Linked DNA regions of Homo sapiens: all the other regions are linked to region 2. Evidence: promoter capture Hi-C in 16 types of primary human blood cells and fetal thymus (Javierre and others, 2016). All regions are on one chromosome and are shown on one strand. The core of a region is centred on a gene start or on the middle of the fragment in contact, and the rest is flanking DNA. Distances in the headings are between cores, read along the strand shown.

What was found. The method cuts DNA at HindIII sites, captures the fragments that hold promoters and counts their contacts. A CHiCAGO score of 5 or more calls a contact.
Region 1: a fragment that was not itself captured here is called in contact with the fragment with the promoter of SHH in region 2 in 13 of 17 cell types (M1 macrophages, megakaryocytes, naive B cells and 10 more); the score reaches 11.7 in M1 macrophages.
Region 3: a fragment that was not itself captured here is called in contact with the fragment with the promoter of SHH in region 2 in 1 of 17 cell types (endothelial precursors); the score reaches 6.9 in endothelial precursors.
Region 4: a contact is called between a fragment that was not itself captured here and the fragment with the promoter of SHH in region 2, in 1 of 17 cell types (endothelial precursors). The highest score is 5.8, in endothelial precursors.
Region 5: a contact is called between a fragment that was not itself captured here and the fragment with the promoter of SHH in region 2, in 1 of 17 cell types (endothelial precursors). The highest score is 5.2, in endothelial precursors.
Region 6: a contact is called between a fragment that was not itself captured here and the fragment with the promoter of SHH in region 2, in 2 of 17 cell types (naive B cells and naive CD8 T cells). The highest score is 5.4, in naive B cells.

Annotation. Positions count from the first base shown.
Region 1 is chr7:156,806,980-156,811,737 of GRCh38, forward strand. The region is part of intron 4 of LMBR1 (limb development membrane protein 1); the gene reads right to left. Among named protein-coding and RNA genes, the nearest start is that of LMBR1, 84 kb to the right of the region's middle. The HindIII fragment of the contact is 831 bases long and covers 2,082-2,912 here.
Region 2 is chr7:155,809,276-155,813,939 of GRCh38, forward strand. SHH (sonic hedgehog signaling molecule) reads right to left here and starts at 3,188. Exons shown (of 3, transcript NM_000193.4): 1 at 2,548-3,188. The coding sequence starts at 2,847. The HindIII fragment of the contact is 3,572 bases long and covers 1-3,255 here.
Region 3 is chr7:156,742,371-156,747,045 of GRCh38, forward strand. All of the region lies in intron 9 of LMBR1 (limb development membrane protein 1), which reads right to left. Among named protein-coding and RNA genes, the nearest start is that of RNF32-AS1, 85 kb to the left of the region's middle. The HindIII fragment of the contact is 895 bases long and covers 1,912-2,806 here.
Region 4 is chr7:156,674,953-156,679,275 of GRCh38, forward strand. RNF32 (ring finger protein 32) reads left to right here. Exons shown (of 9, transcript NM_030936.4): 8 at 744-911; 9 at 1,467-2,178. The coding sequence ends at 1,703. It overlaps LMBR1 (limb development membrane protein 1), which reads right to left. Exons shown (of 17, transcript NM_022458.4): 17 at 2,839-4,323. Among named protein-coding and RNA genes, the nearest start is that of RNF32-AS1, 17 kb to the left of the region's middle. The HindIII fragment of the contact is 3,398 bases long and covers 72-3,469 here.
Region 5 is chr7:156,492,299-156,496,843 of GRCh38, forward strand. All of the region lies in intron 2 of RNF32-DT (RNF32 divergent transcript), which reads right to left. Among named protein-coding and RNA genes, the nearest start is that of LINC00244, 46 kb to the right of the region's middle. The HindIII fragment of the contact is 2,181 bases long and covers 665-2,845 here.
Region 6 is chr7:156,791,080-156,795,539 of GRCh38, forward strand. All of the region lies in intron 5 of LMBR1 (limb development membrane protein 1), which reads right to left. Among named protein-coding and RNA genes, the nearest start is that of LMBR1, 100 kb to the right of the region's middle. RefSeq lists enhancers at 1-952, 1-2,000, 1-1,955, 9-796 and a cis regulatory region at 1,703. The HindIII fragment of the contact is 4,707 bases long and covers 1-3,604 here.

The DNA.
Region 1 (4,758 bases), core at 1,247-3,746, 1.0 Mb after region 2:
GGATACTGAATTTTGTCATATGCTTTTTCTGCATGTATTGTTACGACCATATGACTTTTTTTTTTCTAGCACGTTAATAAAATCACATGGATTGGCATTGCAAAAGTCATGATGTATTATCATTTTTATACAGTGTTACATTTGATTCGCTAAAATTGTATTTAGAACTTAAGCATCTATGTTCGTGACACTGGCCTGTCATGAAACTTTCAGTTTTCATGTATTGTCTGCCTGGTTTTGGTATGAGGGTAATGCTGACCTCAGTGAATTAGGAAATGTTCCCACATCTTCAATTTTCTAGAAGAATCTGTGCAGAACTGCTATTATTTCTTCCTTAACTATATGATAGAACTGACAGTAAATCCTCCTGGCCTAAAGCTTTATTTGTGAGAATGTTTCTAACATTCCCAGAATATTTGAGAAGGCTTTAATAGTTTTTGCCTGTTAAGGAAATTTGTCCATTTCTCTAAGTTGTTGAATTTGTTGGATAAAGGTGTTCATAATATGCAATTATTATCCTTTTAATCACTGTTCAATATGTAGTGATGTCACCTCTCTCATTCCTAATACTGGCAATTGGTCTCTTCTTTTTTGCTGATCATTCTGGCATTGTTTATCAATTTCAGTGTTCTTCTTGGTGATTTCCTGTTTTCTATTTCATTGATTTCCTCTCTCAAGATTTTTAAAGAAAGATTTCCCTTCTTTGGGATCTATTCGTTGACTCTGCAGAAACTGATTTGAGGCCTTTTTTCTGTTGTAATACAGGTATTTCGTGCTATACATTGACCTTTAAAAACTTTTTAGACACATCCCGCAAATATTAAAATGTTTTATTTTCATTTCATTCAGTTCAAAGCACTTTCAAATTTCCCTTTTGATTATTCTTTGACCAGTGAGTTATTGTAAAGTATGTTATCAATTACCAAATACTCAGGGATCTTCTAGATTGTTTCTAGGTAAGTTTTCTGACACTTATTTAATTTCATTGTCCTTACAGAGTGTATCTTGTATGACTTAAAATCCTAAAATGTATTGAGACTTATTTTATGGCAAAGAATGTGATCTCTCTTGGTAAATGCCCACATTGTACTGGAAAAGAATATGTATTCTATTCTTGGATGTTCTATAAATGTTAATTAGGTCAAGTCAGTTGATAGTATTATTCAAATCTTCTATATCGTGATTTTTTCTTCTATATGTTCTATCAATTATTGAAAGAAGGGTGTTGAAATATCTGAATGTAATTGTGATTCTGACTACACTTTCCGTTTTTGCTTCATGTACTTAATATATGTCATTAGGCAGATATATGCTAAGTATCATTAGGCTCTTTGGGTGAACAAACCACTTCAACATGATGAAATGATCTTCTTTATGACTGGTAATATTCTTTGCCCTTGTCTGATAATCATATAGCCACTCCAACTTTGCTCTGTTTAAAATTAGCATGGTGTATCTTTTTTCTCCTACTGCCATTGACCTAGTTTTGTCTTTACAGTGGGTATCCTGCAAGCAGATATACTTCAGTCTTGCTTTTATATTCAATTTGATAATCTCTGCCTTTTAGTTGTAGTGTTTAGAACATTACATTTAAAGTGATTATTGATATAGTTAGCTTTAAATCTATCAACTTGCTTTTTGTTTTCTATTTGCCCCATGTGTTAGCTTCCCTTCTTCTATGTTCCCACAGATTAAGTATTTTTTATGATTCTAGTTTATTTCCTTTGTTTACTTATTCACTATATCTCTGTTGGGCTATTTCTGGTTTGTCTTCAGGTTTATCATATACGCCTTTAACTCATCACAATCTGCCTTCAGATGATTTTATTGGCTGCTCTGCCAATGAAATAGCCATTCCTTTTATTCCTTTACTTTCTTAATAAACTTGCTGTCACTTAGAAAAAAAAAGATAACACTTCACGTAGAGCATGAGAACTTCACAACAGTGTGCTTCCGTGGCTTTCCTCCTGTGTGTTATCGTTGTCATATAACTTACTTGTACATCTATAATAAAATTCATAATACATTGTTACTACTTTTTAAACAGCCAATTATCTTTTCTAAACACAGGATTTTTAAAAAGCTTCTCTACATATAAACTGCTGCTTCTAGTGCTCTTCATTTCATTTTGTAGAGTTAGGAAATGAGTTAAGATATATTCCCTCGGGTTTGTTTAGCTCACGGTTCCTAGATATCTATCTCCTACCCACCTCCTACCACATGAAGGACAACCTGTAACATTTTTTAATGTACAGCTCTGCTGATGATGAATTTTTATCTTTTGTGTATCTGACACTATCACTATTTTGCCTTTGTTTTGAAAAATATTTTCACTGGGGATAAAACTAGACTGGCTGGGATTTTTCTTTTAGTACAATCCTCCCTCAGTGTCTGTAGGGGATTGGTTCCAAGACCTCCCATAGATACTAAAATCCACAGATGCTCAAGTCCCTTATGTAAAATGGCATGGTATTTGCATATAACCTATGCATATCCTCCTATATACTTTAAATCATCCATAGATTACTTACAATACCTAATACAGTGTAAATCTATGTAAATAATTATACTATATTGTTTAGGGAATAAGAAGAAAAAACTCTGTACATGCTCACTATAAACACAACCATCTTTTTTTCCAATATTTGTGATCCGTGGTTGGTTGAATCTACAGATCTAGAATCCACAGATCCAGAGGGCTGACTACACTGTTGCTACACTGTCACAACGTCATCTGGCTTGCATTGTTTCCCACCAGAAACATGCTGTGATTCTTATTATTGCTCCTCTGAACTTAACGTGTCTCTTTTTGTAGATGCATTTAAGATTTTCTCTTTATCACTGATTTTGAGCCATCAGATTACATGCGTTGGTACAGTTTTCCTCATGTTTCTTGTACATAGAACTGGTTAAGCTTCTAAAATCAGTGGGTTTATAGTTCTCATCAATTTTGAAATGTTTCTGCCATTAAGTTTCCAAATATTTTTCTCAACTCCCCTCCTTTAGAAACACCAACTACATCACTGATACCCTGTGTGTTAGCCCACTTTGCATTGCCATCAAGGAATACCTGAGGCTGGGTAATTTATTAAAAAAAAAAGAGAGAGATTTATTTGGCTCACAGTTCTACAGGCTGTACAAGAAGCTTGGTGCCAACAGCTGCTGTGAGGAGGGCCTCAAGCTGCTTCCATTCGTGGCGAAAGGCGAAGGGGAGCTGGCATATGCAGAGATCACAGGAGAAGACAGGAAGCAATGGAGAGGGGGTTGTGCCAGGCTCTTTTTAACAACCAGCTCTTATGAGAATAAAGAACTCACTCACCCACCTCCCGGGAGGGAATTCATCTATTCTTGGGGGATCTGCCCCACTGGCCCAAACACCTCCCACTAGATCCACCTCCAACACTAGGAATCAAATTTCTCTCTCTTTTTTTGAGATAGTGTCTCGCTCTGTCCTCCAGGCTGGAGTGCAGTGGCACAATTTCAGCTCACTGCAGCCTCTGCCTCCCAGGTTGAAGTGATTCTCCTGCCTCAGCCTCCCGAGTAGCTGGGATTACAGGCATGCACCACCACGCCTGGCTAATTTTTGTATTTTTAGTAAAAATGGTGTTTCATCATGTTGGCCAGGCTGGTCTCAAACTCCTGACCTCAAGTGATCCACCCACCCAGGCTTCCCAAAGTGCTGGGATTACAGGTGTGAGCCACCATGCCTGGCCCTGGGAGTCAAATTTCAACATGAGGTATGGGGGAATAAACATCCAAACTACAGCACTATTGTCACTTTTCAGCCATTTTTCCCTCTGTGTTTCACTTTCACATAGTTTTTTGATTTTTTTGTTTTTTGTTTTTTTACATGGAGTGTTGCTCTGTCACCCAGGCTGGAGTACAGTGGCGCAATCTTGGCTCACTACAACCTCCACCTCTCCCGGGTTCAAGCGATTCTCCTCCCTCAGCCTCCCAAGTAGCTGAGTCTACAGGCATGCACCACCATGCCTGGCTAATTTTTGTATTTTTAGTAGAGACGAGGTTTCACCAAGTTGGCCAGGCTGGTCTTGAACTCCCGACCTCAGGTGATCCACCCACCTCAGCCTCCCAAAGTGCCAGGATTACAGGCATGAGCCACAGCGCCCAGCCCCACTTTTGAATAGTTTTCTATTGCTATGTCCTCAAATTCATTAATCTCTTCTGCAATGTCTAATCTGCTATTAATCTACTGTTTTATATACTTTCACATCACATGCTATAGTTTTCATCTCTAGAATTTTGTTTTTTTACATCTTTTACATCTCAGTATGTTCAACATTTCCTCTAAGTTTCTGGAACATATGGAATAGTTATAAGAATTGTTTTCCTGGCCAGGCGCGGTGGCTCACGCCTGTAATCCCAGCACTTTGGGAGGCCGAGGCAGGTGGATCACGAGGTCAAGAGATCAAAACCATCCTGGCCAACATGGTGAAACCCCGTCTCTACTAAAAATACAAAAATTAGCTGGGCATGGTGGCACACGCCTGTAGTCCAGCTACTCGGGAGGCTGAGGCAGAAGAATCACCTAAACCCGGGAGGCGGAGGTTGCAGTGAGCCAAGATTGCACCACTGCACTCCAGCCTGGGCGACAGAGTCAGACTCCGTCTCAAAAAAAAAAAAGAATTGTTTTCATGTATTTGTCTACTAATTCTGACATCTCAGTTGCAGACTCAAGGTAGGCATAGTGGACAAGGTCCCCATGCCTGAATCCCCAGCCTTCTGTGAGTATGTTGCATG
Region 2 (4,664 bases), core at 1,938-4,437:
GTCACATTAGAGACCCAGAGACAGGGAGGGAGACAGAAGAAGAGGGTCACGCACCTGGGGCAGAGCCTAGGTGGTTATTTAAAATGAGGGCGGCCGAGCAGGCTCCCCAAACCTCCCGCCGGCCTGGGGCTCCCCTGCCGCCTCCTGCACCCCGCCCCTGCCCTCAGCACCCGAGCCTCCGCCTTCCCCATCCCTTCCTCCCCCACCCTTAACTCCTGGAATCGGGAGAAGGAAGGTAGGGGAGGGATCAACCGGGGATACCTCACAGACTGCCAGCCCCTACCCCCCTCGGTTTTAGGGGACCTTTGTGGGGTCTGCCTGATAATCCCGGCCTGGCTCTCCTCACCCAACCCCCACTTGGGCCGTCCTTCCCCCTCCTTTTGTGTTGGGAACGGGAATAGCCACTGCCCAAGGAAAAAAGTATTTGTTTTCGTTTCGTTCGTCTGAGGGAAGTTGACAGAAGGTCAGAAGTTCAAATGCTGCCTGTGCGCGCGGCGGCGAGAGTGGCCGGGCGCGGGGCCGCTGGGCCCTGCGTCCCCCGGCAGGGCGGACGGGGGTCGGGGGGAGGCCCCCGGGCTGGGGGCTCCGGCTGGGACGCGGAGGCCTAGAGGCCAGGCAGGCGGCGGACTGGGGATGGGGGCGCGTCCCAGGGCAGGCCGGCGGAGCCCGCGATGCGCCCCGGCCCCTGCGCGGGCGCCCCCATCTCCGCGCCCCCGCCGCCGGGGACACTACAGCGAGCCCGGCGCTGCTGTTAGCTCCTGCGGTGCCTGCGCTCCCGCGCGTGGAGCAGCAGAGCCCGGCGGCTCCAGCCCAGCCCCTCGCGCACTGAAACCCTAGCCGCGGGGGATCGATAACCCGGGAGTAAGTGGGGCTGCAGGCGTCTGCCTCGCTGCGCGGCTCTGTGCGCTTGCAGCTTTGCAGCAGGGCTGCAAGGCCCAAGCCCTGGGAAGGTGTGCGAGCCCAGGACCCCTTCTGCGGTATTGGCCTCCCGCAGAGCAGGGCAGAAGCTGACCCACTCTGGCTCTGGGACCTCGGGTATCCACGCCCCCGCCGCTCTCTCCGCAGTGCCTCCCTCCTCTCGGGTTCCGAGGGACCCTGGCAAGGCCCCTCCTCCGCGGGGAGTGAGGGTGACGAGAGGATGGGCGCCTCGGGCTAGCCGGAGAACTCCCTCCAGCCAGCTGCACGCAACGGGCACCCCATGGCCCGTGCAGAGTTAATTGTGGATCGCGCTGCTGTCTGGCACTGGCGCGCGCGTCCACACTCGCGGTCCAGATTTAAGGTGGTCGGGAGCAGATGAGGGAGAGCAAGGAAATCAGGACCATTTCCCATTCCTCTCCCTTCCGACAGCTGGAGCAGGCTACCTTGCCTGCCCCTCGCCTTTCTCGGCCTCAAGCAAGCCTGGGAATCGGGTCGGGAAGCAGGGCGGCACGGAGGTAGCTCCTCTCTCTCTGCCGTCAGTACCCTCCCCCTGCACTTGCGCCCCACCAGCGCCACTCCATCAGCCGCTGTACGCACCTAGCCCTAAAGGTAGGACTTGAATATTTTAATAGGGCAATAAAAAGGATGTTGACCTATATTTGCAAGGAAACCCATTTCTGGCTTCAGTTATACGTGCATGGAGTTTCAGAAAGTCTAGAATTGGCTGGGAGATTGGCAGCTCAGAAATCTCAAAGGAGGTGGGGAGAGAGAGAGGAATTCATATTTTGCTTAGCTTCCCCTCCCCCCACACTAATATTTATTCGCTCTTAATTCTTATGCAAGCAGGTTGAAAACTAAAGTGATGCAATGCCAATAAGTTCTAAGTCCCTCCCCTAAGGTACCTCGGGCTTGGAAGAACGAAAGAGCATCCTTAAAGAAATATCAATACATTCACACTCTGATGGGCACAATTGCGGACACGCAATCGCAAAGCCAGCTCTGCGATACAGCCAGCCACCCAGGGACGGGCGGAGTCTCCCCTGGAGCCCCTGCCTTTTGTCAGAACCGCCTCCTGGCTTTTCCAGTTGAGAATTCTTTGGTGGGGAGGTGCAGGGTGGGGGTAGTGGTGGGAAAGAAAACCACAGAGGCAACGGGAAACGTGGGGGCTCTGAGCTCCAATGCCCAAGGCTACGTTCGTTCGTTCGTACAGTACCAGGAGACCACTTCATGTTTGTGGGAGGGGGATTCCCAGCCTCTCCTTCCATTTCCACTCCTGACTTGGAAAGGGCCGACGCCCCCAAAGTGAAGGTCTCCCCAAGTTACAAGCCAGGGCAGAGGTAGGATGGGGAAGGCCATTGTAGCAAGACTCATCAAATCAGGGCCATAATGAACCACGTCTGTTACCGTCCTCACCCCCACCACACCCTAAACTTCTCCAGCTGGACCCTTGACCTCCATTCTCCTCCAGGAAGAGGAAGAGATGGGGGGCGGGCAGGTGGGTGGGGAAGGAGCGGGTGAAATCACCTTCCTATCTGCCCGAAGAGCAAACAGAGTTAAGTCTGGAAGTGTTCGGCTTCTCGTAACCCCCTGGAAAGCCACACATTCCACGCCCCGGCGCTGGGTTCCTACCTGAGTCATCAGCCTGTCCGCTCCGGTGTTTTCTTCATCCTTAAATATGATGTCGGGGTTGTAATTGGGGGTGAGTTCCTTAAATCGCTCGGAGTTTCTGGAGATCTTCCCTTCATACCTTCCGCTGGCGCCTAGGGTCTTCTCGGCCACATTGGGGATAAACTGCTTGTAGGCTAAAGGGGTCAGCTTTTTGGGGTGCCTCCTCTTCCCGAACCCCCTGCCCGGTCCGCACGCCAGTCCCGAGCATACCAGCAGCGAGGAGACGAGGACTAGCAGCAGACATCTCGCCAGCAGCAGCATCTCGCCCATGGAACTGATGACTTCCGAGCTGTCCCCGTGCGGGTCCGTGCGCGAGTGCGCGCGGCGGGTGTGTGCGTGTGCGCTCTCTCTTGCGCTTTCCCTTCCTCGCTCCGGCTCGCCCGCTCGCTCTCTCCCTCGCTGGCTGCCTCGCTCTTTCTCTTCCTATATAACCTTGCCCGCCGCGGCTGCGGGGGACTCTCCACCGCTCCCCACCCAGACAGGGGCTGGAATGGCAGGCTGCCGGCCGCTGATAACGGAACACATCGGAGTTGGGTCGCGAGACAGCAATCAAAAGACAAAAAGAGTCTGATTTTAAATGGTAGCAAGCCTGGAGAGCTTGTGAGAGAGGCTGCCTTTAGCACTATATTATAGCTGCCAGGGGCGCATCTGATTGGCCAAAGCCGCACAAGCTTGTCTTCTGATGTTAACCCTGAAGAAGACTACGTTTTTTTTTTCTGTTGCTGCTGTTGCTTTATTTTCACCTGAAGGATTCGAGTTAAAAAAAAAAAAATCTTTCCTAAGATAAAGGTGGGCGGGAGGGAGGAGCGCATGTCTTGTGGTAACAGCAGTTACTCCCGGCTTTGTGTACATCCTTGCGTTTCCCCCTGACTTTCCCTGGAATGGTAGGTGCTTCAGTTAAAACCAACTTAAGTTTTTAAAGGACAGTTTAAACCCCCGCAAGCTTCAGTCATCAAGCACAGAGTCGCTCACACATTTGAGGGGCACAGCTGCCCAGCTGTTATTTAATTTTTCTTCCCCAGGGACTTTATAGTGCAGGCTGGCTCTCCCTGCATTTTGAAGAAAGAGGACTGAGCCCCTCCTGAAGACTCAGCCTCTGTGGACCGAGGATAATTATGAGTGACCATAACTTAAAGCACTGGTATTTGAAATGCTTTAAGTGCCTTAGAAAAATGTAAAAATACTGCTCTTTTATTGTGCTTCAATTAATACATTTTTTTTTTTGTAGAGCTCTGCAAATGGGATGGAGGCGTGCTCAAGGGCAGTTACAGAGTGAACTGCGGGCGTCAGGGTGGATGGGCAAAGCAGGTCTGGGGGCTGCACCCCAGCACAGGGGAGAGAGTGGGGGCCAGTGTGTGCGCTGGGTGTGTGGAGGCCATTGCAGGGTGTTGGGGGGGGGGCAGGCGAGTGGGCGAAGCTGTGCTCACACAACCCCCACGATCGATCAGAGCAAAGTGCAGAGCCAGGGGTGAGCTGAATGTGGAATTCAGGCTCCTTGCAAAGCTGGCCTTGTGTGGGGGCTCAGCAGGCCAGCAGTCTTCAGGCACAGGAGCCACCAGTCCTAGGGGCTGCAGCCCAAGGGGTCAGGGGCCCTGGGGGAACAGTGTTCTGGTTAACGAGGGGCTTCCTAGAAAGAGGGCACAGTGCCCAGGAGGTGGCAATCTTTGAGTCTATAATCACCTCACTTTTTGCAGAAAAAGGAAAAAAACTCAAAAGTCCTAAGTAAACCAGGAAAATAAAATTTGAAGCTCCCTCTCAACCCTGCTTTTCTTTTTTTTTTTAAAAAAAAAAAAACAGATCATGCCCTTCCCCTTCTCAATCGCCATCCCACTCATGTGCAATGATTCCTCTAGCATAGGATTAGAGAGTGAGGGTTATTTACGTGGAGGGGAAATCCTGACCCTGAGGAGTCATCAGATGCTGCAAATGTGGCCCTGTGAAGTTAAACACTCTCCCTTGACCCCGGGCCCTTGGAGTGGAGGGGGAGAGGACCCCTGTGAAGCTCAGCCCTCAAACGATGGAAGTTTCCAGAAGTTCCCTTTGCAGATCAACTTTTTGTGTGTGTGGTGGGGGAGAGA
Region 3 (4,675 bases), core at 1,109-3,608, 930 kb after region 2:
AGCCAGACCAAGAAAAAAAAGAGAAGATCCAAATAAAATCAGAGATGAAAAAGAAGACATTACAACTGACATCACAGAAATTCAAAGGATGGTTAGTAGTTACTGTGAGTAATTACATGTCAATACACTGGAAAATCTAGAAAAAAATGGACAAATTTCTAGACACATACAACCTACCAAGATTGAACCACGAAGAAATCTAAAACCTAAACAGACCATTAATAAGTAACGAGATCAAACCTGTAATAAAAAGTTTCCCAATAAAGAAAACCTCAGGACCTGGTGGCTTCACTGCTGAAGTCTACCAAACATTTAAAAAAGAACTAATACCAATCCTATTCAAACTACTCTGAAAAACAGAGGAGGAGGAAATACTTCCAAACTCTTGTTAAGGGGCCAGTAATACCCTGATACCAAGACACATCAAAGAAAGCAAACTACAGACCAACATCTCTGATGAATATTGATGCAAAAGTCCTCAACAAAATACTAGCAAACCGAATTCAACAACACATTAAAAAGATCATTCATGATGAAGTTGGATTTATCCGAGATGCAAGGGTGGTTCAACATATTCAAATCAACCAATGTGATACATCATATCAATGGAATGAAGGACAAAAACCATATGATCATTTCATTTGATACTGAAAAGCATTTGATAAAATTCAACATCCCTTCATGATACAAACCTTTAGAAAATTGGTACCTTGGATGGAGCGAAAAGATGTGGCAATCAAACCATTATATAAACAGGATTTCCAATCAATTCTCTTATGAAGTAGCTCACTCTACTTCGTCTGGTGGTGCCACTTTTTGGGACTTTTGGGGATTCTGGGGTATAAATTTATAAATCAAGCACAAATGACTTACGATTTAGCTTCCTTGGGTCTGTGAAACTGGTTACTTAAGTCCGCTAAATTTTCTCAGGTCTTCTAAATTCCAAAATTTTATTGTGATTTTCTCCTCTCAACTTCTCATCTTTTTAGGTTTATGCCTCTCTGAACCTCAGTGTTTTCATCCGTAAAAGGGGGTGTATCTATTAGGACACTATATACTGAATCAGAAAACTAAACTCAAAGTAGCTTAAAAATGAGGAAATAATTTCATATAATGAGAAGTTTAGACACAGAGCAAACTTCAAAGAGGATTTTCCAGCAGCTCAACAGTGACATCAAGGGACTAAAAGTACTGCCATCCTCAAGTTGACAGGAAGACTGGTGCTCTTTCTCTTTTTATGTAACTCTGTAATTTCTGCTCATTATATTTGTTCTTTATTTCTTCATTTTCTTCTTTCCCAGCTAGTGAAACTTTAGTTTATCCTTTTTGCCCATGTTAATTTGGCAGTTCAATGGTTACTTTCACATTTTTAATACTCATACTTAGATATACTTTTCATTATAATATCAGCATCACACAGTCCTAGCCCTACAGGGATGCTTTTCTGAGTAACTTACCCCACACCAAAGTGAAGCTCTCACAACGCTTTAATCATTCTCTCACTGCTGCCCACCCATGCCCCCAACTCCTGGATCTTGCTGCGACAGTTTTAACAATATTTAGTTCAAGACTGTTACCAAATGTTTCTTTCAATATGGAAGTTAGAATAGTGCTTGGCACAAATTAGGTGCTCAATATACAGATATAAAACGAACAAATGAGGGAATGCATAACAGATGAATGACATCTTTGGGAATATATGAATTTTTTTTTTAAGAGACAGGGTCTCACTTTATATTACTGCCCAGGCTGGACTCGAACTTCTGGGCTCGAGCGTATACTCCCACCTCCCGAGTAGCTGGGACTACAGGTGCGTGCCGCCACACTCAGCTGAGTTTTCAACTGCAGTCTTTATTCCTCCCTTACAACTATGGGTACTATTCAGCAACCAGTAGCAGGTTGCAAATGGGAAGCTTGATGTTGATCTCTCTCTTCTTTGTCTGGAATTTTTCTATGTGAAAGTTTGTAAGGGCTTTTTTTTTTTTCCATTGTTCTTGGAATTCAGGAATCTTACAAACTAAATCCAAATCTTTTTGATTTTCTATTGAATAATCTTGCCTAGGAGTGTGTGGCCTTTTAACCTGAACTCAAGTCTTTCTTAAGCTCATTGATATTTTCTTCTATTTTTTATTTACCTACTTTTCCTACTTGTTCTTTTCTCTCCTTTTAGATGCCTATTATTTACATTCAGTATCTTAGCTCTGCACTTCACGTCTATTTTTCATTAATACTTTCCTTCTTTTTGTACTTTTGGTGTGTGACACAAAATAGTTCTTCCCCTTGATTCTGCAAGATGATTAATTCAATTTTTGAAGGACTATATTAGTATGCTATTGCTGCTGCTGCTGCTACAAATTATCATAAAGTTTCTGGCTTAAAACAACATAAATTTATTGTCTTACAGCTCTGGAAGTGAGAAGTCCTAAAATCAAAGTGTTAGCAGGACTATAATCCTTCTGGAGACTCTAGGGGAGAAATCATTTCCTTGTCTTTTCTAGCCCTTGAGGGCCACCTGCATTCTTTGGCTCATGGTCCCTTCCTTGAGTCACTCCGACCTCTTCTTCCATTACCAATGTCTCCTTCTCTGACCATCTCAGCCTTCACTTATACCAACTCTTGTGAGTACAGTGGGCCCACTACATAATCCAGAATAATCTCAAGATCCTTTACTTCATCCCATATGCAAAGTCACCTTTGCCATGTAAGGTAACATATTCACAAGGTCTGGGGATTAGGACTTGGACATCTTTAGGAAACCATTATTCTGACTACCACAAAGACTATTTCTTTTTTTGTTTGTCTATTAAGCTTTTTATTTTTTTCAAGTTCTCAGCATCAGTCTTTTTCTGTTCTAATGACATTTCCTTGGACATTCTTACTACTTTTGAGGATTAGGTATGAATTCTTATTTGTCTCTCCCATTAATTGTTAACTCAAGTGGGAACCACTTGTTCTAGATATCTATCTTGGTCTTCTTCACTGAACCTTAAACAACTGGTAATTTTTCTCTATCCACCTCTGTTGTTCCCTTCATCTCTAATCAGGTCAGACACTCCCTCAAACAGTGACAAACCAGCTAAAAGGTACAGCAATTCAATTATGTTCCTAGGGGCTAGGGACCAACTGGCCAGAAAAACTGATTTAGGAGGAGGAAACCTCGCTGGGTCTCTCTAGGTGCAAAGAGTGGTCCTTTCTCAAAGGGAGAGACTGAAAGGAGGATTCAGAACAACAACGCAAGGCCAGCAAGATCAGACAAACCTTTGCAACACAGGGGCAAATGCAATCTCACTAAGGGAATTCAGAGGCCTCTTTTTCTAAGCCCCTTTGGGGAATCACAAAATTCCAGTCTTATCCCAGGTTTCTAGGAGAAGTAAATCCCATTCCCTTTGCAGCTCCTTGCTCACTTCTGCCCATCACTGAAGAGACAGCAATCGAATACCCTCTCTTTCAAAGAACCTGAGATCTCAAATCCACTGAAACGTTTTATAGTGTTTTCAGAGTTCATGAGTTTTATCACTTTACTTGTTAATATATAATTGATATATTTATGAGAGGAGGGATAAAGCTAGTACAGAAATATTCAGGTAATGTGACACAAGCTACTAAACTTTGATTACAAAGTTAGTTTTGAGTTTCTGGCAGCCACAGCAAAGGGGGAAGCAATTAAGTTACATAACGAATGAGTATTTCCATATAATGTGATTTACAGAAAGACAGCACAGCTCTGTAAGGTTTTCAGGTGTCTTTGAATCAAAGTTTAAACTACATAATAGTCTTAGTAATAAATATATTTTACTTTTATCTCCATTCTTTATCAATTAAACTGTGTATCTGTAATTAATGCTCATTTAACTTGTATATCTCATTGACTGGAAATACAATTCCAAACTACATTCATTCCCCATTCATGCAAAGATTTATTATTCTGGTAACCAGCTGAAGGGTAGAAAAAATAAGCTCATGAGTATTTAGAATTTCAAAAGAGAATGGACATCAGAATAGAAAGTATTCCTGATGCCAATTTGAAATTAAGTGAAAAGACAAAAATGCCTACTTTGTGGGTATGTTTACAGAGCTCAATACAAATGTCTAGACCACTCAATGTATGATTCTTCAAAGGAAAATAACTAAAATGGCATTTCTGAAATGCTGTGCTTCTATTTGCAGGTGATATAACACTAGGCACACAATAGGTAATTAATAAATACTGACTGACTTGCATATAAAAATCAAAACTACATTCTTGTTGTCCTCAAATAAATCATACTTTTATTAAATGACTAGATTCATCTGAGATGACACATTATTCAAGGACAAGACCACTCTTTATTATAATAGAGCAATACCTAAGGGAGAAATGTAAGCTTTTTTGAGTAAATATTTCATTATAAATGACCAGAAGGAAACAATGACTATCGTAAGAAATTATGACATACTGCAAACAAATACTGAGGCATTATGTGGATTTAAGTTATACCAAAAATTTAAAATATCCCGAGGAACTGCATTATCATTACTTTATTTCCAAATGAATCTAAAATGTCCAGTGTCAGCATTGTCTAGTCAATAAGTCAAACTGGTAGACAAAACCTGTTTAGACAAGTCACAAGAAATAAAAAGGGATTCTCCAAGAAAACCACAAAGCAGCTCATTTAAGGTCAATTTAATGGTATTA
Region 4 (4,323 bases), core at 521-3,020, 860 kb after region 2:
AGCAGGGGAGGGAAACAATATACCCTTTTCCCCTACCCTCCTAAATTCTTCAGCTGGAGCCCTGTAAGTTAAGCTTAACGAGAAAATTACACGGATTTACTTAGTAAGTCCCATGTGGTATGGAAGCCTTCCTAAGGCAGCGCAGACCGGAAGAGATAGTGCAGACCCGAAGAGGCAGCGGCGACCCGAAGGGGCAGCGGAGACCCGAAGAGACAGTAACGCCTGAGCGCTTTCTATGCTAGGTTGGATGAGGACACAGAGGTCGTGGGGAAGCATGACAGGACAAGGGGTGAGCTGAGGGTGGTCGGTGGGAACCACGGCAAGGCCTGTGTGCTGTCTCCTCCCGGCTCCCTCCGTCTTTGGAGACGAGGGTGCCTCTCACAGGAGGGTCCTGTGACCCACTTTAGGGGTGGGGAGAGGTCAGACGGTCCCTCCTGCAGCTGTCATTTCTCAAATTCCTTTGGGAAGGAATGTTTTTTCCTTAAAATATTCAGTATGCCAAGGTGCCGTATTTTGGGGTAGTGTGTTCTGGACTCCATCAGATAGGGGTTCTTGTGGTCATCTGTCCAGATTATCTGGATTTATAGTTAAGTAAAATAGACATATATCTATTTCCCTAAAAAGTATTATTCGAAGACAGAGACGAGGAAGGTTACCAAAATAGATGGTCAGGCTCGAGAGCGCTTCCCTGCAACCTCCACCGAGCTCAGGTGTGAGCTTACCCGCCCCCGCCTCCTCCTCAGTTCACAGAAATCAGCCACCGCATCCTGTGCTCATACAACACCAACATTGAAGAGCTCTTTGCAGAAATCGATCAGTGCTTGGCCATAAATCGAAGTGTTCTTCAGCAGTTGGAAGAAAAATGTGGCCATGAGATCACAGAAGAGGAATGGGAGAAAATCCAAGTGCAGGTAGGTTTGGCTGGCAGCCTGGCAACCAGCAGACTCAGCTGCAGCTGCAGAGGCTGTGGGGAGTGGCATGTGGGGGGAGGTCGAGGACTCACTTTGGGGAGCCTAGGAGTGTCAGGCCCGGGGTGCAGCCGTGGAGGCTGTGGGGGTGGCATGTCGGGGGAGGTCGAGGACTCACTTTGGGAAGCCTAGGAGTGTCAGTCCCGGGGTAACCGCTGCCCTAGCTGCCCCTGCACCTGTGGTAGGACTTTCCTCATGGGCTTTAGGGTGACGGCAAAGGTCCCTTCAGTTTGAAATTCTGGAAGTTCCTGTTGGATGTTGCTTATCACAGGTGGGTTACTAACCCTTTCCACAGTTCCCAGGAGTAACAGAGTATATGTGTGTGTATATATATATGTATATATATAAATAAAATGCATGTGATTTTAACACAGAATGAAACTTCCGCATGTTTCGAAGACCCATGTCTCGGGGCACATGGTTCGCATTTCAGTTTAAGTAACTTTCTGCTGTGATGAAACTAACCCGCGTGGCCTCTTCCCGTCCTGTGTGCCGCAGGCTCTGCGCCGGGAGACCCACGAGTGCTCCATCTGCCTGGCCCCTCTCTCCGCTGCTGGCGGTCAGCGCGTGGGTGCAGGCAGGCGTTCCAGAGAGATGGCCCTCCTGTCCTGCTCACATGTGTTCCACCATGCGTGTCTGCTGGCACTAGAGGAGTTCTCCGTGGGAGACAGGCCTCCTTTCCATGCCTGTCCTCTCTGCCGCTCCTGCTACCAGAAGAAGATTCTTGAATGTTGAATTCATAGTCAAGGAAAGTTAGGTAATTCTGAGGAAAAAAGTTTACCATCATTTTGGATGAACTGCATGAGTTCTGGGTTAAGTACTACAATGTAATCTGTTTCCCAGGGAAATAAGCTATTGGTAGTTGTAGGAAATCTTAGTATATTTTAAAAGCTGACATCCCACCTAATTTTAATCTTTGGTCTCTAAAAAGTAAATTTCAAATTTATGAGTTTAATCACTTCAAATATGAATAGCAAAAAATGAGAGCTTGCTTACTTCTAAAAATTGAGGTTAAGATATAGCTAGTGTCTGAACGACACTCCTTAAAGTAAGTTCCAAATGTAAAACACTCCTTAAGTTCCAAATGTTTTCCGCTAATAGTCTGTCCTAAAGCCTTTGCCATTCCTAATACTCGTTTTGTAATAATTGCTGTATTTCTGTGTAATAAAATATAAAAATAAAATATTCAGTGGTATTCAACATCAAAAAAGTGCAAATTTTAATGTCTTAGAGCAATAAAGACTGTTTTAGTTCACACATTTTAAAAAAAAGTGAACCTTTTTGGATAAGAATTGTTTTTGTCACTGGTTTACTATTACTGGGAGCTTGGTTATTTACAGTAACCAGTTACAGTCTCATCGGTTAGGTTACCCCTAGCCGAGTAACAGATAAAGCCCCAACTCTCAGTGGCTCGCTGAAGACACATGATTTCTGAGGTGTCCAACCCATGTCAGCCATGGGTGAGGCAGGGCGAGGGTACACCATGTGTGACCCTGGCTCCTTTTGTCTTGTGACACAGTCTCCTTTGCCCCCGAGTCCCCAGTGAATCCTGTCACTGCTGGTGGAGGGGCAGGAGGACATTGTTCCAGGCCATGCTTGGGAGTGGCGCTCATCACTCCAGCCACAGTAACTACAAGGGGCAAGGAAAGGGCAGGGTGTAGGCCTAAGAGGAAGAGGCCAAGTGGGTGTGCACATGGCATGGGCTCAGAATAACCCAGCATCTAATGTGAGAAGAAATGCCAAAATTTCTATTTATTCTTATCTCATCCCTTAGAAAAAATACTCTCCTATGTTTTGTGATGTACACATTATATAGCTACATATGTATGTATCATTTATGAATAAATATGCATATATTGGGATGTGCTCATTTTTTAAGGATGTATACTATCAAAAAATTTGCAGACTAATTTGGAGAATGCTTTAAACAATGAGTAAGCACTTTTATTCTAAGAGAGCAGAGGGAAACTGAATCACAGAACCTCAATTTTCTGTAAGCTGACATCTCTCTCCCCATAGCGTTGACAGGCAAAGCACAGGCACGTGTCAAAGGCCAGAGCAGTCCGATTCCGCCGCCCTAAACTTTGGATCTAGAAGGAGAGTCCCGGAGATACATGGATCATTCAGTGATGGGAAGAGCCCAGGAAAGGTTGTGCCTAAGGCTGTGCCCAACACTTCTTCCGGGGCTTTCTCATCACATCTGTGAGCCATGCCATCCACCCCGTAAACCTTCCGTGCCTATGTTGGCAGAGTCCATCTCTATTCTTTGCAACCAAGTGCAGTACTTTACTGACACAGGAACTAGTGTTAGTTGCAGGCAACAGATACTTAGGAAAATCGGTGGGATGAAAGGCAGGAATGGTCATCTAACTTCACTGAGGATGAGGGTCGCGAAAATCCCATGAGTTCTGAGGAATGGTCCAGGGCAGCCTGTGACAGTTAACAGAAAATCAGGCAATTTTCTTACTGAAAAGTGGCCATGGAATGGCGCGCCCATCGAAAGCTTGCGAGACCAAGTTGCAACCACAGAACGCTAAAAAGGACCTGAATGAAGTAGCTACTTCTCTGGACAATTTGAAGATAACGCCACATTGTCAGGTCAAGTCAGGAAAACAGTGCAAGCTTTTATACAATTACTCCACAGCCTCATCAGGTCTCTTCTATAAAAACTGGGACACTGACCAAGAAAGAGTGGGGCCTTTGGAAACATGAGTTCATGGGAGGACTCAGCGGACAGGGAGAGCCCTGTCTGCTGCCCTCATTGTGTCTTCCTGGTCAGCTACAGCAGTCCCTACGGGATGTGGCCATTCCTCCCTTATTTTAACAGGTTGGAACCCACTTGTCTGACAGTCACCTTGCAAGATGAAGCCACTTCTTGTGCCTTCTCACACATCCCTTTTTGCCTTTAAATCCACTTAATTAGGAGCCTACCATTCCATGGGCGGGGGGAATCATTAAATCACTATCAAGTCCAGAAAGAGAATTCTTAGCGAATTGTGGGACTGGAGGCATTTGATAAGAATAAAGGTTATAATCTAGAATGAGGATACCTGTCATGAATCTTTATCAACCAGATAATAGAACTGTAAGGTACATGAATGAACAAGAAACTGAAAACCTAAAACAAAGAAAAAATGAGACTGCGGTTGTACTGGCCTGTATTTACATCCAGTTCATCTGCCCACTGTAAGCGTGACCCCAGGCAAATGTCTGCAGCTTTCTCAGTGGCGTTCCTTGTCGGTAAAATGCAGATGTGTATTTTCGGCTTCGCAAGGTGGTCCTGGGGGTGACTGTGGGACGACAAAGAACTCGACCCTCCACACCACGCCCCAGGCCCCTCTCACCACCCCTGCTT
Region 5 (4,545 bases), core at 505-3,004, 680 kb after region 2:
TCACTGTCCCCACTGCCAACCCACTGTTCACTTGCCTGGGCTTTGTGTCCCCAGCAGGACGCAGGCTCCGTGAGAGCCGGGCCAGTGGGACTGCTCATCCCAGAAGCCCCCGCCGGAGAGCACCTTCAGGGCGGACCCCCAGCAGTGTGTCAAGTGGGTGCATGTGTGCGGATGGGTGCAGGGGCTGTGGTATTGAGGAAGACATGGTGTGGTTAGATAGCAAATGCCCACAGCCTGGACAATGCGATTCCCACCTGAGACACCATTGCCTAAGGGGCCCAGAGGCTTGGCTTTGATGAACAGGGGTTTGTACGGACAACAGGGACTGCAGGAATACAAGAGGGTGGCCTTGACATTCCCTATTGTTCCAAGAACCATCCAGCTCAGGGCCTTTGTGCCCCCGACCCTTCTGGAATGTTCTTCCTTACACAGCACTACATGATACAGAGAAACGCAAGCTTGCACTCACACGGCTTCCACATCAGCCAGGGCTGAGTACTCTCATGAGGATTCCTGGCTTCCCCGTGATTTACCGCAGATTCCCTCTAAGCCCAAAATCCCCACGTGCACGAAGAGCTTTTCCTTCCTTTCCATCTTCACATGCACTCCTTTCCAGGGCACAGCTCTGCTCCAAAGGAAAACATGCCTTTCCCACCGCCCCCCAAGCTTTAGTGAGGTATGCTTCACAAATAAAAACTGTACACATCTAAGATGTACAATTAGTGAGGTATGCTTCACAAATAAAAACTGTACATATCTAAGATGTACAATGTGATGTATTGGTGTGTATGTTCATATATAGTGAAATGATAATAAAAATTACAGTGATGTCAAAATTAATTTCCAAAATGCATATTGTGTGTCACTGCACTATAATTAGGATGTTACCACTGTCCATTTGATCTGCTAAACTGTAGAATCTCTGAAGACAGAACTGTAATCTTACAGATATTCTATAATCAGAAAAAATTATATCAAATATCCAGTTTGGGCCATTTCCTGGGACAGTATTCGATGATTAACTTGAGCCTGAGGAGACTATATAAAATCTTAACATTAGGGGCAACTGAAAAGAAAGGTTGAGATGGCTAAATTTTTTTCTTTTCCTGGGAAAATGCCCCATGTCAACTCCATATTCACTACATTACAGTTAATAATAATTTCATATTTTAAATCACTGATTCCATCAAATTTAACATGTATTTGATGATTACCTATTATGGGTTCAACATTGGACTGGACATTTAAAAAGTACAAGATACATTTACAATATGTAGTTCCAGCCCTCAAATAGTTATAAAAGTTCCAGCCCTCAAATAGTTATAAATCTGCCTGGGAAGGTAATTTGTTTACACTTGAACATTCCGGTTACATTTAAAAAAATCTATATGGACAATAATGTATACTGAAGGAGAACGACAGATGTTTCCTGAACACACCAGGCACACTCTTACTTCAGAGGCTTTGCACTCATTATTCCTTCTAGAATGTTCTTTCCTTAGGCTACCTCCAAAGCTCCCTCACTCACTCAAGTGAGGGTCTCTGCTGGAGCGTCCTGTACCAGTGGGCCCTCCCTGACCACAGTGGATGGCAACCTTCTACCTGTTTCCCCTCTCTCCCTACCCTACACTCATTCTTCACAGCACTTGTCAGTCCTAACTTATATTATTTATCTATTTTATTAGTATTTTCTGCCTTCCTCCTTCCCATGAAAGCAGGGACTTGCTCTGTTTTGCTCATTCCTCTGTTTCTAACATCTGGAGGGTGGCCAGCTCATCACAGACATTCAATAAATATTTCTTAAATCAATGTCTAAGGGATGAATCACACAATGCATGGTATTGCCCAGTCGGATGTCACGTGAATCAAGACATTTTTCAGGAAGGATTACAACTACCATGCAAATTGCAAGCTCCCTGGGAGGCATAAGCCCTCTCTCCCAGCATCCCATCAGCATTGCAAGGTGTGCCACCAAACTCCACCGCGACTTGCTGATGTGCACGTGTATTTCAAATCAATACCGGGTTTACGTGTATACAAACACACAGCCAGCTAAACACCTTCTAAACTCGGAACATTAATACCTAGACAGGTGCCGATTTCAGATGTTCACACAATTGAAGCAAATGAATTCCATCTCTATCTGAGCCACATTTTCTAAAGACAAACTTCTTCTTCAGCATGGATTATAAAGAAGAACAAAAACAATTACTCAGCCATCTAACATGCCTCATGTTAGTCAACCACGATGTGAATAGAAATGCCCAGGTCATGTTAAGGTTTGTTTCATTTGTTGTGTTTGTGTGTTTATTGCATTCCCAGGTCATGTATTGCATTCCCAGATTAAGGCTGGAATACCTTGCACGTGTAATCTTCATCCAACAAAATAAAATGCAGACACGCACCCTCCCAGAAAATCCTCCAGTGGCAGCGGCATGTGAGAGCCAATGGAAGGCCAGGCCCAGGGCCCATGCGAGGATCGGGAAATTGTGAAAAGAGTGGAAGGAGTAGGGACTTTGAAATCAGACCAGGGTGAGGAACGGCCTCCCTCCCTTTCGGACTTTCCAGCTGCTGGACATCTCCGAGCCTAGCCTGTCACTCTCAGAACATCTCAAATTCATCATCTTCCCACCCCACTTAGCAGCTGGTAGCCACTGCCCTGTGTTTCATGATGTGAAACACACAAGTGCTACCTCCACACCTAGCATGTACACCATCCTGTATCAGAGATGGCCACACCTTGTATTTCCTAGAGCAGGGGTGCCCAGCTCCCCCACGATACCTGTCCATGGCCTGTTAGGAGCTGGGCCACACAGCAGGAGGTGAGCAGTGGGCCAGTGAGCAAAGCTTCCTCTGTATTGACAGCCGCTCCCCATAACCCGCATTACCGCCTGGGCTCCGCCTCCTGTCAGATCAGCAATGGTATTAGATTCCCATAGGTGCACAAACCCTACTGTGAACTGTGCATGAGAGGATCATGTTACTGTAATGCCTGATGATCTGTCACTGTCTCTCATAACCCCCAGATGAAACCATCTAGTTGCAGGAAAACAAGCTCAGGACTCCCACTGATTCTACATTATGATGGATTTTATAATTATTTCATTCTATATTACAATATAATAATAATAATAGAAATAAAGTGAACAATAAATGTAATGCGCTTGAATCACCTCAAAACTATCCCCACTCCCTGTCCATGGAAAAATTGTCTTCCACGAAACTGGTCTCTGGTGCCACAGAGGTTGGGGACTGCTGTCCTAGAGGCTTTCAGGACCAAGTGCACAGTGTAACTGGTGTTTGTGTCTCACAGCCAGGTGGGCACAGCCTGCAGCATCCACGTTCTATAGACTCAGAATCAAAAGCACTTATTAGGTACCCCAGCATCAACAAACACCACCCACTGGCACCCAGATGTCCTCAACGTACTCTTTGTCCACCTGAGCAGATTTATCTTCATGACACGGTAGAATCTTTAGCTAAATACTAACAAGTGAAAACTTTTGTCACTCTGGTTAAACATTAAAATAATCCTGCTGCGACATGAAGATGCTCATTTCAAAACAAAACAATGGGAAGTGTTTTAGAAAGCATTCTCTTCACGGGGATGGAGGGAAGGCAGTAAAAGGAACCCCATGTCAAAGGAACCCACAAACCAACCTAAGGAACAGACCAAATGTAGATGGGAGATGAAGAAAGCATTGTGTGTGTCAGTTTCCATCCGTCTGTCTCCCCGCAGCCCCCACCTCCTGTCCTGGAGAGTTGTACAGAAAGGGCACATCACACCCACCCACTGGAAAATGGACAATTGTTGTGTCCAATTTCACTGTCATCCCAGAATGGAAACCCTGAGCTGAGGAGAGCTGTCAGGTAGGAAGGACAACGTTCTCTCCACCGCTTTGATGTAAACCAAACTCTGGGTGCTGCCAAGGTTTGACTAATTCTTCCTTATTCCAGGCTTACCTTGTTGCCTAATTTTTTTCATATAATTCTGCAAAGCTTTAAAACTGGGTTTAGAAACTACAAGGGCAGGAAAATGCACCCATGATATGCTTTACATGATATAAAAATCCCCATGCCCTGTCCTCTCCCAGCCCCACTGTAGAAAGCAAGTTTTATTAACACGAGGCAAGTGCTCAGTTTTCAAGAGGACTCTGAGCATTAAAGCAGATTGTTTTATGTCTCTGACATGAATACTCCGGGTGGATGAACTATCAAGGCCCAGGTTTAAGTGTGATTAATGCCTAGTACTTGGAAACCATCCAAACTTATTAAATCTGATGGAGTAAAACAGCATAACTTTCTCATATTATTTCCAGGAGATGTGATTAGGCTGAACGTGGTAGTGAATGGAACTGCAGGAATAAGCCACGGTAGCGGGGAGGGGGAGCTCTATTTACAAAGAATTAAAACAGAGTGGAGCGTTTTAGCAAGTACGGGCAGAGTTCGATCACCTCAACCCAAGAAGAGGGGTGAGGACTGAAAACAAAGTCAACACAACCTTCCTGTATATTCCATGACTTTGTCCACACACTACCAAGAGTA
Region 6 (4,460 bases), core at 1-2,500, 980 kb after region 2:
GGTGTTGGGAAAATCAAATTAACACGTAACAATAGTTAGTGAGATATGGCTTCATTTTCTGTAATAAACACTAAGATCAAAACATGACCCAAGTTAAATTTCCTTGCAGGGTTCCCAGCAGGGGCTTCCCTTTTGTCTGTGATTTCCTCTCACCCACCAGAACCAGGCCAAATATGCGCATGTGCCACTAACACTAAGCAGCACTTCCTTAATCACTCATTTCCAACAATTTATGGATCATCAGTGGCAAAAAACGAGCAAAAATAATGAAAGAATGCAATGAAAGCTCGTGGAGACAGAGGCTGGACTTCCTACTCACTCTGTGTCTCTTTAAGATGGAGGCCTGATACAAATTAGCCACTGGGGGGAAAAAGTCATCTGGTCATAAAATACAGTACAAGGTCACTTTTATGTAAGTTTGCCAAAAGGGACATAAACCAGGACAATTTCAAACTGTGACACAGGATAGAAACATATTAAAAAAATCTTTGTTCCTCCTCTATTGTGCTGTCATGTTGCTCAGCTTTATAGACATTCCAAGCACCAGCACAGAACTCTTCGCTTCCACCTGGTCAGTCCAATTAATTAAGAAAGGAAGTTACCTAAAATTTTGTACTTTTTGCTTTTATTATCAGGCACTTTGTTTGAAGTTATAGGAGTTAACCTCTTAATCCTACAGACCGTGTGCTACGCTCTGGCCATTCAGGGATGTCTGGATGGTTTGGATAATTGGTCAGGATGTTGCTTATGTTACCTTTTATGCTATGACTTCAAATCAAACATAGGCATTAAAGTTAAGTACAATAGAAATTTACTCCCAGAAAAATCTTGGGTTTATGAATTAATCTGTCATAAATTTTACATAACAATCATATGGAGATATTTTCTCCCACTTTCATTAAGTTGCTGAATTTTTTTTCCTCCTGACATTTTTATTCAAAATAAGATGTTAAGATATAATATAAAACAAATATATGCCTAACTACCATTTAAACACTGGCCAGAGGTTATACCTCCAGAGTTCCTTACAAAATCAGAAAACATCTCTGATATTAATCCAGATAACCTGGAGGTCTTTTCTGGAGTGGAGGAGGGAGATAAATCATACAGCCAATCTGAGGTATGATAAGCACAGCAGTGATGGCTGCCTTAAGATGTTCCCTGAGCCCTAAGAGCCACATACTGCAGAAAAAGCAGGCTTACTGCAAAACAAAACAAAAATCACCAAATGGAACCTTTTTATCAGTTGAAAAATTAAGATGTAAACGGAGTCACTTTCAAATACCTATGAACATACCTAAAGCTCAATACACATAGGTGACAGCAAAATAATCTAAATTTGGTAAACATTTAACTGCTAATAATAAGTCTAAATTCCAAGATAAAAGTTAGCTGCTTACTAAAAAAAAACTTTTACTTTATCAAAACCATTTCTATGCTCTTACACTTCAGAATTATAAAGTAAGGGAATAGCAAGGAGATGGTCCTAATAAAATAGAAACACACACCGCTGCCACGGTAAGAAGAGAGAAGCAAAGCTATTGAAGGCCCTTAAAAGGACATAGTCAACCCCCCAGGCCTAATATGTCCTGTTTGAATTAACATAGTGGTTTAATTAAAAACTAAGTAGAGAATTCTGCTTAATTTGATTTTCAATTCAAGCTCTGCATCCGCCCATGGCCAGTGGCCAATTTCCGCATCTCGGCACAATATGCAAGAAGCTGTTTGAACATCGATTGCCCAGGGGAATCCATGGGAGTAGAGTGGGGCCATATGCCATTTAGGGATACACCAGACTTAGACACAGTAAAACAGCACCAGGAGGGTGGCCACAGGAAAAAAAAAAAAAAAGGAAATTTTACTTAACCATATTACAAGTTTGTCATTGCTCAAATTAGTGCGCTGAATCTACCCATTAGAAATGTTTCTAGCCTCTCTTCAGTATCACTTCAGCAACTATATGTGTCAAATGTAATCGATGAGCAAGCAGCTTTAAAGGAATATACATAAATATATGTACTTATTCGCCAAATATGTTAAACATTCTAATGACTGTGATCAATCATAACATTAATTTCAATAAAGCAACGAAGTTAATTCTAATAAGCACTGTGTAAAGAACCATGTATCTTTAAAAATGTTATTTAGAACTTACACAGGTAGTTAACAAATGATTCTAGACTACAGAAATATACAACATGAAAGGGCTCAAATGTATGCTTAACACATTTAGACTTAACGACACAATATTAGTAACCTTTCCAACTTTCATGTGACTGATTTTAAAACCGAAAAATATGAATATTTTAAAATAACATGTCTTGATTAGCTTAATTTTAAAACTTTCTAAACATTTCTACTAGGATCTAGAACACACCTTATCTTCAAACAAGTTTGTTTCAAAGTATGCTAGCTGTAATGCTCAAGCTGAGTTATTCTACTTCAGTACATGCCATTGCAAAATGGGAAACATATTTTAAAACCGCCTGAGATAATAATCTGTGAGGAATTAAAAGATGACTGTACTGTATTCAGTTGCTTGCTTTCTGAGGCTCATATTTTATAGAATATTTAGTGATAATAAGTATTCTAGAAAACTTATTAGTGATTAGTGATATTTTATAGAATACTTATTAGTCAAATGCATTTAAAGACTACCTCGAAGATAAAGGTAATTTAATAATAGCTAATTTACTAAATGAAGTCCTGGGCTATGTGCATTACATGAATAATCACATCTCATTTAATCACCAAAATGATACAATAAAGTAAAGATCATTATTACACCCATTTTATAGAAAGCAACCCCGCGGTTTAGATGAAGTCACCTCCCAGGCAGTCTGACTGATGCCAAATTTTCTCACGGTTGCAGCTTCACCATCTTCCGCTGGCCTCTTTCCCTACCTTCAAGCTAGAATCCCATCTCCCTCCTTCCTTTAACGGCATTAACAACCAAATTCTTTAATTTGGTTTTCTGCAGCACCTATTACAACTTCCCAAGTTGGACAAATGGCAGTCGTCCGGGGCTCCACCTTCTGCTGTGTTTGGGAATTAATTGGATTCATAGTTGCCTGTATCCTACAGTCATTCAATATTTCAGTCCCATTTGAGGTCAAGAAACACAGCTGGTGACCCTCGAGTGATTTTTAGGCAACTAACATGGTCAAAGATGTGCTAAGAAAAGAATATTAATCATGTATAAAAAGACTAAAAATTTTTTTAAAATAGAGGAAGTAAGTGCTGTACAATCGTATGTGTGAAATATCTCTAATTAACTTCTATGATCCCTCCTCAGCTGATTCTCCCTTTGACCTTAAGTCTGTAAGGGGGAACAGGAGAAAAATGACATGTCACTGGGATTTTTTGTCATTTTTTTCTTTTTTAATTCTGGAGATTGTTGCTAATTCTTCAAACAGATTTAGCCAAGTCCCTTTCCTAGTTGGTTAATTCACAAGAAGGGAAGAAAATAACTTGGAGGCAAAGAGTTTGTCCATATTACACCCTGTTATTGTAAATAACAATCTATTCAACTAGATTGTTATAAAAAGTATAAATTAGGTAGATACTGTTTATAATGTCAAATATGAAAATATAGTTCACACCAAGCTTTATCATTTGTTTTTTGTATGTGGTACTATTACACAAGAGGTAGTGTCAGGAAGAGGGAAGAACTTTGCTTATTGAAAGCAAACGTCGGCAGGCAATGTCACAGAGTCAGGTGCAGGACTGATTCGGTGCCGTGTCTACAGATCAGTGTTCTGCACTGTGTGGGGCATGTACTCCTTTGTACTCCTTTCCTTTGTGACCTGCACAAAGTCTAAAATGCATATTTATCTCTAAATATACTCAAGTGGTAGATGAAAAAAAATTATTTTCAAAAATCCTATTCTGGCTTCTCTGTTGCCTACAACATAAAACTCAAATGACCAGATGGAGGACTCCAGGCCTCCAGAATTCGACCCTGGCAAGCGGCTTGTGCACCCTCATCTCTCACCATTCTCCAGTATCTAAGTACCGGCCATTCCCTCAATACTGTCAGAGCTCTAGGCCTTTGCTCAAGCCTGGAATGCCACACTCTAGCAAACCCCTGCTCATCCTTCAAGTCCCAGCCCAAGTCCAGATTGACTTCCCCTGTGAAGCCTGCTCAGATTCCCCAGGAAAATCAAGATATCCTTTCCTTTCAGGGTTTCCCATAGGACTTCATTATATAAAAGGGCTTCAAACTGCATCTTATTTGTTTACATCTGTCATTTCTCCCACTGTCCGACCCTTGAAGGCCAGAGGCCCATCTTTTCATCTGTGTCCCCAGCAAGCTCCTATAAAGAGCATAATAACTGCTACTTAAGGAATTGGTTAATAAAACTGAATTCTCAATAAAATTCATTCTCTGTTGAATGAATGAATATCCATCAAAAGTTATGTTTCCAAAATTCTACAGAAATTGCCTTCTCAAGAGTCTA